4 separate regions of the Homo sapiens genome follow, and all the other regions are linked to region 1. Evidence: promoter capture Hi-C in 16 types of primary human blood cells and fetal thymus (Javierre and others, 2016). All regions are on one chromosome and are shown on one strand. The core of a region is centred on a gene start or on the middle of the fragment in contact, and the rest is flanking DNA. Distances in the headings are between cores, read along the strand shown.

Region 1 (2,656 bases), core at 80-2,579:
ATAAGTACAGCAAGGGGCCTTCACATAACAAGCCTCATATTGGAGTCTAATAACCAGACTAATAACCTAGACTAACTGAAAAGGCAATTAGTCTTTACTGATATCTCCTGAAGCATGACAAAGCAAATTTCTTAAAATCTCTTTCCCATTCCTAGCTGTGGATCTCCACACCAGTGCCCCAAACAGCAGCCACCTCAACTCTACCTTCACTTAAGTGTAATTTAGCTTATACAGTTGTCCCTAAGTATCCCAGGGGGGATATTGGCTCCAGGATCCCTGCTGATACCAAAATCCATGAGTGCTAAAGATCCTTATATAAAATGGTGTAGTATTTGCATACAATCCATGCATATCCTCCGATATACTTTAAATCATCTCTAGATTACTTATAATACCTAATACAATGTAAATGCTGTATAAGCAGTTGTTAAACTGTATTACTTGTATTTTATTGTTGTACTTGATATTTCTTTTTTCCTCAAAATATTTCTATCCGCAGTTGGTTGAATCTTCACAGAGGGTGTGGGTGTTGGAGGGTGTGTCTGAGGAGATGCCCAGAAGAAATTTGCCATGCTAACGGTAGTGCCCAGTTTCAAGACAGTCTCTGCCCTTAAGGAGCTAAGGATCTGAAGATAAAATAATTACCCGTTGGGTGGTGTTATACAGATCCTGCATAAAATTAGGATTTCTGAGATGGGCGAGGTCAGCCTGGATGTGAGCCTAGAAGTGGGCATGAACCTGGATAATGAATTAACTCTCAATAAATATTTGTGGGGAGCTTCCTAGCGGGCCTCTTCCAGTCATTCTGTGTATGCGTTTTACATATGCATTTTTCTAGGGCAAGACTCCATTATTTTCAGAATATTCTCATTCCTTTATAGTCATGACTCCCTTTATTTGCGTAACATAAGGAAGGAGCAGATGTACGGTGGGCAGATGAAAGCTTTTCCAACATCACTAAGAGGTGGTTTCAGATCCTGAAGAGGTCTTTGAAGTCCCGGGAGACCTGGGTCCCAAGTGGTCTGACACTTCTCGTTTAACAGTCGCAGGGGTGGCGTGTGGTTCGGGGCACCTGCTCCTGGGCGCCTCCACCTGGCCTTAGCCTCCAGGCCAGGCCGGGTTCCTCCTACCCTTGCTGAGGCCATTTGCTGTCACTCCGCCCACTGCCCCTCTCTGCCTCCTCCCCACTCCTTTTCCTTCCGTGCGCCTCCATTTCTAACTACGCCTCCAGCCCATTCGGGCCCTCCTCGGCTTCCGTCCCAGATGATCCCTCCCCGAAGCTGCCACCGCCTCCTCCATCTCCCGGAGCTGGAGCCGCCTCCTCGGCCAGTGGCGTAGCCGAATCGGTGTCGCGGCCAGCCAGATAGGGGCGGAGGTCCGGAACCCAGTCTGGACCCGAGCGGGGGGCCATGGAGAAAGCGGCCCGAGGCGCTGTTTACACCGACTAGCGCGGGCCCGTTGCGGCTGCAGGCACCATGGACCGAGCCCCCACGGAGCAGGTACGCGGGTTTGGGCTGGGCCCGCCGAGCCGGGGGTTGGGGTCGCCGCTTCCTCACAGGCCAGGCCCAGTTCTCCGAACGTGGGGACCGGGGGCCGGTCCTGCGGCCGCAGACCCCCTCACCTGGGAGCCTGGCAGCTCCCAGCTCTCCTTCATTGTTCCAGCTGCTGCCTGGGACTTGGGGGCTTTTCCAACCCTGATTACTTCCCAGGCGGAGGGCTCGCCGTTGCCGCTTCTCCCCTGCTTGGTGAAGGGGTCAGAAGGCTCCAAGTTGTCCCTGCTCTCCTGGGAGGAGGGCTTATAACTTCTAGTAGTCTCCCCGCTTCCCCCATTCCCTTCAGCTCTGGAATGTGTTTTCAAGGTGGAAAGGCGTTTGAAGGCTTCTCACCCAGAAAGACTGTAAGAGAATGTGTGGTAACTACAGATGAAGGGAAGTCACGGGCCTTTTAGGTCTGTGTTCAATGGAGCGAAGCATTGTTTTTGCAGTGGTTTTACGGAGGTGTTTCTTTTAAGAAACGATACTACGATTTCCCCTTGTCCTTTTATCCAGTTATTTTGCAAAGAATTGTAATTAGTGGGTTTTTTTTTAAAGCTAGCTCTATTTTAAGGGTGTAAAGCATAAGCTTATTTTCGAACCCGTTTTCATATTCGCAAAGTAGTCCTATTAGTGTTCTGTTTTATTTTTATTTGCATCAAATTCCTGATTATGCATGCTAGTAGGTGGTAGCAGGCAGGGATGATAACAGTGTTAAAAGTAATCGAAAACAATAGTTTCCCCCCCAGTATTTTCCACTCTTAAGATCTCTGCGAAACGACTTAATTTGAAGTCCAAGTTTATTCACTCTCTATTCCCTTCTTCGAAGGCCTTGCCCATTGATGACTAGATGACGGAAGAAGAGAGGCTAGTAATTTCTGCCTATTAATTTTACAGTTGGATAATTAGCACCTGAATTAATGAGATAAGATTTCCCAAATTCCTGTATGTGTCTATATGTAGTTGAAGCCGGTTTGTATTTTGAAATCGGACTCTTAGCAGGCAAAGCACAGCTTCCTAGTTGTGTATACTTGTTTTTACAGAAGACTTTTTTTTTTAAAAAAAAGCTTTATGTGAATGTAACTCTGAAGACACAAATGAGTTTTATAAAACAATACATGGAA
Region 2 (2,656 bases), core at 117-2,616, 1.3 Mb before region 1:
CTTTATATCCCAGCAGATTCCTAGTGTTCTTCAACTTAGAACACAGGAAGAATTGAGAATAAGGGTCTGATTTTAAGATCAAAACTAGTGTTCTTTGGTAAATCTTTTTACTTTTTACTTGCTTCCTCTGCAAAGTGGAGACAATAATGATCTTGTTAAGGCCCTTTAGATAAAATGAGACAATGTAGATAAAGAGCAAGATGCTAGGGACTGTTTTTATTATTATTGAAATTGTTTTCTTATGAGACTGTAGGCAACTAAATTTGGAATATTTTCATACACGTACACATGATTATAGTATGCTAAATTTTACTTGGAGTCATATTTTACATACTTTTACTATGAAAAATGCTTTCAATAACTAATTTTTTTTTTTTTTTTGATACGGAGTCTTGCTCTGTCGCCCAGGCTGGAGTGCGGTGGCGCGATCTCGGCTCACTGCAAGCTCCGCCTCCCGGGTTCGCGCCATTCTCCTGCCTCAGCCTCCCGAGTAGCTGGGACTGCAGGCACCCATCACCACGCTCAGCTAATTTTTTGTATTTTCAGTAGAGACGGGGTTTCACCATGTTAGCCAGGATGGTGTCAATCTCCTGACCTCGTGATCCACCCGCCTCGGCCTCCCAAAGTGCTGGGATTACAGGCGTGAGCCACCGCGCCCAGCCTCAATATCTAATGTGGTGCATTAAAGGCTTTATTAAGCTTATCTGTAACCTAATTTTGAAAAAAAGCTTTTAAATAAAAGTTTTAATATTATATTAGTAATATATGCTTGCTATAAAAAAATTAAAACTTAGAAAAAAGTAGAAAAAAGGGAAAATTCATAGTTTTCATTACAATGGTGTATTGTTTCCAAGTGGTTTTTTTTTTTCTTTCTTTTTTTTTTTTGAGACGGAGTTTTGCTCTTGTTGCCCAGGCTGGAGTGCAATGGCAGAATCTCGGCTCACTGCAACCTCTGCCTCCCGGGTTCAAGCGATTCTCTGCCTCAGCCTCCGGAGTAGCTGGGATTACAGGCGTCAGCCACCACACCCAGCTAATTCTTTTAATTTTTTTATTTTTAGTAAAGGTGGGATTTCACTGTGTTGGCGAGGCTGGTCTTGAACTCCTGACCTCAGGTGATCCACCTGCCTCGGCCTCCCAAAGTGCTGGGATTACAGGCATGAGCCACTACACTCGGCTCCAAGTGTTTTTCTATTAAGATCATGGTATATATACAACTTAGAGTCCTGATTCTTAAACTGTTACATACTGTTTGTAAATATTTTCAAATGAATATATATAGTATTATTTTAAAAATATTTTTATCTTTTAGAGATCTGTACTGAAATATTAGAGATAATATTATATAATGTCTAACACTTGATTGAAAACAATGGGTGGAGTTGGGAAATGAGTCAGCCATTAATTGATAATATTAAACTAAATGGCTATGTGGGAGTTTATTATATGACTGTCTAGTTTATATATACTACAAATTGTTCATAATGTAAAAGAAATAAATCACTACAGTATTCCATTATGACATATCTTAATTTCTTTAATCATTGTTTGTGGTTGTTTTTTTCCTTATTTTAAATAACATTAGTATTGATATATTTAGATTTTTGAATAGTTTCCTTATGATGGGTTTATTTGAGTAGAATTACTAGGTCAAAGAGTATGAACATTTTAAAGACTGGGTGTGTGTAGGGATGTGTGTGTAATACAAAATTGGAGTGGAGAAAATCTTTAGGAGATTTATATTGGATTTATAATTGTACTCATTGAGCATAAGAATTATATAGCAAGTTTATTTTAAATTTTTAATGTGAGTAAAGGCTTATTAAATATAATAGGTGTAAACATTTTAAAAATTCATATTCTTATTTAAGAGTGCTAGTAACCATTCACGTGGAACTAGTACTTTATGCTTTTATAGAGTTTTCCTGTCTAGTACATGCCATAATCCTCACAACAACTCTATAAGCTGTAAATTACGGAAATTCAAAACAAAATAGACTAAGCTTTAACATGTAATTATTGGTAGTAATTCCTGTTACCACTAGATGGCCATCTTGGCATGTACTTTGAGCAAAAGTAGCTAGTTTGTATAATAGATTTATTATTAACATACATTTTAATTGGAGTAAAGAACTTATTTGCCACAGCAGAAAAGCAATATATTTTTGTTGTTAAACTAAATGATTTTTTAAAAATCTAGCACTTTATGTCTGAGGATTTTTGTTTGTTTTTGAGACAGTCTTGCTCTGTTGCCCAGGCTGGAGTGCAGTGGAGCAATCTTGGCTCACTACAGCCTCTGCCTCCTGGGTTCAGGGATTCTCCTGCTTCAGCCACCTGAGTAGCTGGGACCACACCCAGCTAATTTTTGTATTTTTTAGCAGAGATGGGCGGGGTTTCACCATGTTGGCTAGGCTGGTCTCAAACTCCTGGCCTCAAGTGATCTTCCCTTCTCGGCCTCCCAAAGTGCTAGGATTACAGGCTTGAGTCACTGCACCCGTCCAGAATTTTAATATATAGATATTGAACTGAGTAAATTAGTGACTTGACCTGGAGCTATGCTCCCCTTGGTCAATGTAGTTGTCTTATTACAACTGAGTTCTTCTAAGGGTCAAAAACTACGATGAGTGTGTGTGGTCCCTGTCAGGTGAGAATCAGAAGT
Region 3 (2,656 bases), core at 90-2,589, 1.1 Mb before region 1:
TGCTGTTCCCTCATGTTGAAAGTTGTCAAGTGTTGTCAGCACAGTTCACACATTTAATAAGTGGCTCTGTCAGAGAATAGTATAGTACAGAGGACATTGAGTAAGTGGTATTGGCATGACTCAAAAACCATTTCTTTTAGAGGAAATGTGAACCTTTCTTTTAATTTGCCTTAGTGCTACTTCTGTACGAAGTGAATGCTCACTACTTGCCACTGAGGAGGGTCAGGATCTAAGTAGTGTTTTATTTTCATCCTCTACTGTCCTCCTGTGTTCCTCTATCTTAATTTGATACGATAAATACAGATAATGCTTATTCCTCCCAGACACGCTGCTAGGAGCTTCCCTATGTTACATTTTGGGAGCCTGAGTTATTTTATACAGGTGGCACTTTCATGCTCATTTACAGACAAGAAAGGGAAGCTTAGGTGAATTGAGACAGCCGGTAAGTAATTCGTGGGTTTTGGAAATGGTATCTGTTTGGTCCCGGGGAACCAACTCTTAGCTTATTCTTAGTAACTATACTATGCTGTCCTCCTATTCTCTAGGTTTCTGTCCATGTCCTCTTTTTTTTTCGGTGTGTGTAAAACACACAAAAATGTTTCACATTCCCTCCAGGCCACCCCCTGCCGTTTTTTAGCCTCCTTTTCGTATCCCTAGTAACTGCGCAAGCAACCTTTCCCTTTTCCTGACTTTTTCATTTCTGATCCAGCTACCTGGTTGCATCATTTCCCTGGGGATGAGCTGGGGGCCTTCATCATCCCTGAGGAGAAAGCAGTAGAATTAACCAAAGTGAGGGCCCGACAGAAACCATTCTCATGTGCACTTCTTTCATGGTGAAGCTCAGAGCCAGCCCTTCCTTTTTCATCCCAATGCCACCCTCGTCCCTTGATGGCTAATCGCTTCTGTGTAGCCACCTGCACCCCTCTTCTCTTTTCCTTGAACAGCTACTGTCTACCCAGAGTGCTAGATTACCACAAGGGTCCACTTTTTCCCCTCTTATTCTGAGGATCACTTTAACCTCAGTTACAAGTAAAAGAAAACAAGACCCAAGCTAGCTGAAGCAGAAACAGGAATTTAAGTAGTAACTGGAGAGTCCGGGGCTAAGACATCAAGGATTTTAAATGCTGACACCTGGATCTAGTTTTGCTTTCACTATTTCTCCTCTGCACCTCCTCTGTTCTCATTCAGGCTCTCTGGTTTTTGTCCAAAGATGGCTGCCAACAGCCCTTAGGGGTACATGCTTTCTGGCTCAACTTCAGAGAGAAGTACAGGAATCTTTTTCTTAGGAGTTCTCATAAAAAAAAAAATCCCTGACTGGATTATGCGCCCATTTCTGAACCAATGTCTGTGGGTCCTGGGGAAAAAGGTGCTAGTTGTTTTAAGCCAATCAGCGCTCACCCATGGGGGTGAGAGTATAATCAATTTCACCTAGGCCATTTTGTGGAACGTTTTACGGTATTATTAAAAAGTGGGGTTAGGGAGAGTAAATTTGGGGAAGTAATTTTCAAATGTCTATAATATATACCTTGGGAGTCCCAGTGATTCCAGCTTTGAGCCTGGGATCCAGCTCTTGCTTTATCACGAGGTTAATAGATGTCTTAGTCTGTTTGGGCTGCTATAACAAAATACTGTAAGCTGGGTAGTTTATAAACAACAGAAATTTATTTCTCAGACTTCTGGAGGCAAGTCTAAGATCAAGGTGCCAGCAGATGTGGTGTTTGGTGAAGGGCTACTTTCTCACAGATGGTGCCTTCTCACTGTGTACTGTTTGGTAGAAGGGACAAATTACCTCTCTGGGGCCTGTTTTATGAGGGCACTAATCCCATTCATGAGGGCTCTGCCCTATGATCAAATTACTCCCCAAAGGCTCTACCTCCTAATACCATCACATTGAGGGTTAGGATTTCAATATATGAATTTTGTAGGGGACATGAACATTAAAACCACAGCAATAGTCTTCCTGGAAATATTGCTGCCATCTTATATCTCCACTGCTCAATTATCTTTAGTGGTTCCCCATTGCTTCCTATTGTCTTCCACCAATGACATCTATAGACAGTTGTACTTGTACAGCATACTAGAACATACCTGGCCTAGAGTTGACCAGATGCCCTGGCTTCTGCCTGACTCCTTTGAAAGGTGATCGATAGCTTAGCACGTTGGCTGCCCATTCTTGGTACATCTCTTGGGAACCTCTGGTCTATAAAATGAAATTTAAACTTTATTTTCTGGCTCTTCTGAATCTCACTCAAGCTTTCACTACACTCAATTGACAAATATTTATTGAGTTTCTGCTATGAACCAAACATTATTAGGTATTAAATATTTTAAAATGGACCAAAACTTAATTCTAACTGTTCCTTTTCAAGCGCACTTTGTTTTTAGCAAGTCTGGTCTGCACACTCCTAAAAATGCCCTGCACCTTCCTCTTTCTACTGGCTTGTTCTTACCACTTTCCACCCCTGACCATCCTAACCCTGTAAATCTCAACTCTCCTTTAGGGCAGTAGTTGTTTGATTCCTGAATTTCTTAGTCCCGTGTTATATTTCGAAACCAAGTTAGGGACTCAAAATAAGTAACGACTTCTTAATTTTTCTAGTAAGAACAACCCCCTCCCCCATCACAGTATATTTGTTATTTTATAGAAGAATGACAT
Region 4 (2,656 bases), core at 44-2,543, 1.1 Mb before region 1:
CCGTGGGATCCTGCTTTTGTCTTTTGACTATGGTGTTTAGACATGGAAGCCAGGGTGCAGGTATACTCCTTCTGCAGGAGGGTTATTGCTTCTAGGCTCTTTCAATGGACAAAATAGGAAGTATATACTTTTTTTTTTTTTTTTTTTTTGGAGACAGTGTCTCTTTCTCTCTGTCACCCAGGATGGAGTGCAGTGGTGTGATCTCTGTTCACTGCAACCTCCGCCTCCCCAGTTCAAGCGATTCTCATGCCTCAGCCTCCTGAGTAGCTGGGATTACAGGCATGCAGCACCACACCCGACTAATTCTTGTAATTGTAGTAGAGGCAGGGTTTTACCATGTTGCCCAGGCTGGTCTTGAACTCCTGACCTCAGGTGATCTGCCCACCTTGACCTCCCCAAGTGCTGGGATTACAGGCGTGAGCCACCGTGCCTGGCTAATACATAGTTTTAAAGACCTCGAATTTGTACTGATACCTCTAACTTCGTAACCCAACACCAAAGAGTTTGCGTCTTCTTCCTTTACTCCATATCTCTTTTAAAAAACAAAAAACAACCCTCCCATAATGGGAAAACTGGTTCCCAGTGAGACAGCCAAGTGGGAAGAGGATCCCTGGAAAAACTCCAACTGGCTTGTGCACTGGGAAGAGTGCACACTGGGGTGGAGACACAGAAGTTCACAACATTTGCAGAAGGGTTCCTCTTCCTGTGTGGAACCTGGGATTCAAGGCTCCTCCTCTTCCTGTGTGGAACTTGTGGGTGGGAAGTTCTCTAGCAGGGACTCTGGCCTTAGGAGGATCCCTGTTTCCCCTTTTTTCCCTTTTACCCAATACAACCCTGCTTTACTCACGCTTCAAACCATCTATGAGCCTAAATGTTGGTGACCATGGGACGGAAAAGGACCCTGTCTTTAGCTGAACTAAGGAAAAGTCCTGCAACACCAGCAAGATCAATATGTTTATCTATTTGAAATTCTAAAACACACGCAAAGTAGTTTCAGAATTACTACATCAATACCACTACCAAAGACAAACTTACCTTACCAGGTAAAGTTCAAGGCTTTCTTAATTATTATCCTTAGAATATTCCCTGAGGGTGGCCAGTTAGAATTTCACATTCACAAGTTACTTGGAATAATTATTTTTCTTGTTCTGAATAATTACATTTTTTATATGATACATGCTTAGGTTGATTTGTTTCTGTTTCTGTTCAACTTAACAGTCCTCCCAGCCTGGTGACTAAATTTTATATTTGAAAATGTAGGCCGGGCGTGGTGGCTCATGCCTGTAATCCCGGCACTTTGGGAGGCCAAGGCAGGTGAATCACGAGGTCAGAGTTCAAGACCAGCCTGGCCAAGATGGTGAAACCCCGTCTCTACTAAAAACACAAAAAATTAGCTGGGCACGGTGGCAGACGCCTGTAATCCCAGCTACTCGGGATGCTGAGGTAGGTGAACCACTTGAACTCAGAGGGCAGAGGTTGCAGTGACCCGAGATCGCGCTCCTGCACTCCAGCCTGGGCAACAGAGTGAGACTCCGTCTCAAAAAAAAAAAAAAAAGTAAACATTTATGTGGTTCAAGAGTAAAAACTATATAAAAATATAATCAGAAGAGTTCTATCTTTTTCCATCTTTCTCATTCATTTTCATCCTTTTGCTTTAGGTAATCAATCCCATTAGTTTCTGGTTAATCCTTTCTGCATTTCTTTTTTTGCAAAAATTAGGACATATTCATATATCTTCTGACAAAGTAGCTTTGGCCAAATAGAAATATTGTCTTGCTGGGCACAAAGCACCAATTTTCAAAAAAGTTCCCAATGACTGAGCAAGCATTTTCTCTTCTTGGTGTACCTGAGTGCACCTGTGATAGTAAGAAAGAAAGAAAGAAAGGAAGGAAAAAGAAAAAAAGACATGGTGAGAGTGGCGGTGAAGAGAGTAGGGGGCCTAATTAGCCTTAAGAATTTATTCACATTTAGTAAAATTTCCACTAGATGGCAGTAACACTCCAAGAATAAGTTTCCTTTGTGTTCTGGGATAGGGTGACGCACCTACATGGAATGATGAGCTGTGGAGTGTGTTTAGGACAGACTCCCACCCAATGCAGAAATATTTTAAATGGATTCATTTTTCAGGTAATACCAATTTAACTTTTAAAATTAACTCTAAATCCAGTTTATCCCTCAGTAATGTAATATACTGAAAAAAGAAAGAGACTGATCCTGAATCAATGTATGACTGATCTGTGATTTGATAGCCTCTCAAATCAGACAAGATACTATAAACAGCAAATGTTAAAAAACCCTTAAGATTCAGTAAAATGTATTTTTATGCCCAGTGTTAATTAAAATCTCTTTATTGAATGCACTTTACCTCTTTATTTTTTGTTCAATTTTGTTTTATCCTGATTTTTAAAACAAGTAAAAAGTAGTCAAAGCCAAAAAGTAAACTAAATATCAAGGTTCATTTTAACTCAGATTAGGATGTGGTACATATAGCTGGGATTGTAGAGGTAATACCATACCCCTGGTTAACTCAATAGATCTTGCAAAAAGTTCTATTTAATATCAGTCACTGCTTTTCATGGCTCAGCTAGGCTTTAAGAACGAAATATTTTCTACGATATTCAGTAGTGTAATATGATATGGAAGCAACTGCTTCCAT

The links. Contacts are between HindIII fragments. The CHiCAGO score rates a contact against its expected background, and 5 or more counts as called.
Region 2: a contact is called between a fragment that was not itself captured here and the fragment with the promoter of SECISBP2L in region 1, in 5 of 17 cell types (total B cells, activated CD4 T cells, naive CD4 T cells and 2 more). The highest score is 10.1, in total B cells.
Region 3: a fragment that was not itself captured here is called in contact with the fragment with the promoter of SECISBP2L in region 1 in 1 of 17 cell types (erythroblasts); the score reaches 5.4 in erythroblasts.
Region 4: a contact is called between a fragment that was not itself captured here and the fragment with the promoter of SECISBP2L in region 1, in 1 of 17 cell types (M2 macrophages). The highest score is 6.0, in M2 macrophages.

The regions. Positions count from the first base shown.
Region 1 is chr15:49,045,119-49,047,774 of GRCh38, reverse strand. SECISBP2L (SECIS binding protein 2 like) reads left to right here and starts at 1,329. Exons shown (of 18, transcript NM_001193489.2): 1 at 1,329-1,499. The coding sequence starts at 1,476. RefSeq lists enhancers at 863-992, 1,093-1,442, 1,733-1,872. The HindIII fragment of the contact is 1,178 bases long and covers 946-2,123 here.
Region 2 is chr15:50,315,634-50,318,289 of GRCh38, reverse strand. The region is part of intron 1 of GABPB1 (GA binding protein transcription factor subunit beta 1); the gene reads left to right. Among named protein-coding and RNA genes, the nearest start is that of GABPB1-AS1, 37 kb to the left of the region's middle. The HindIII fragment of the contact is 1,272 bases long and covers 731-2,002 here.
Region 3 is chr15:50,178,836-50,181,491 of GRCh38, reverse strand. It overlaps a transcript of ATP8B4 not described here. Among named protein-coding and RNA genes, the nearest start is that of SLC27A2, 2.0 kb to the left of the region's middle. The HindIII fragment of the contact is 1,833 bases long and covers 423-2,255 here.
Region 4 is chr15:50,144,914-50,147,569 of GRCh38, reverse strand. It overlaps a transcript of ATP8B4 not described here. Among named protein-coding and RNA genes, the nearest start is that of ATP8B4, 27 kb to the right of the region's middle. The HindIII fragment of the contact is 5,521 bases long and covers 1-2,656 here.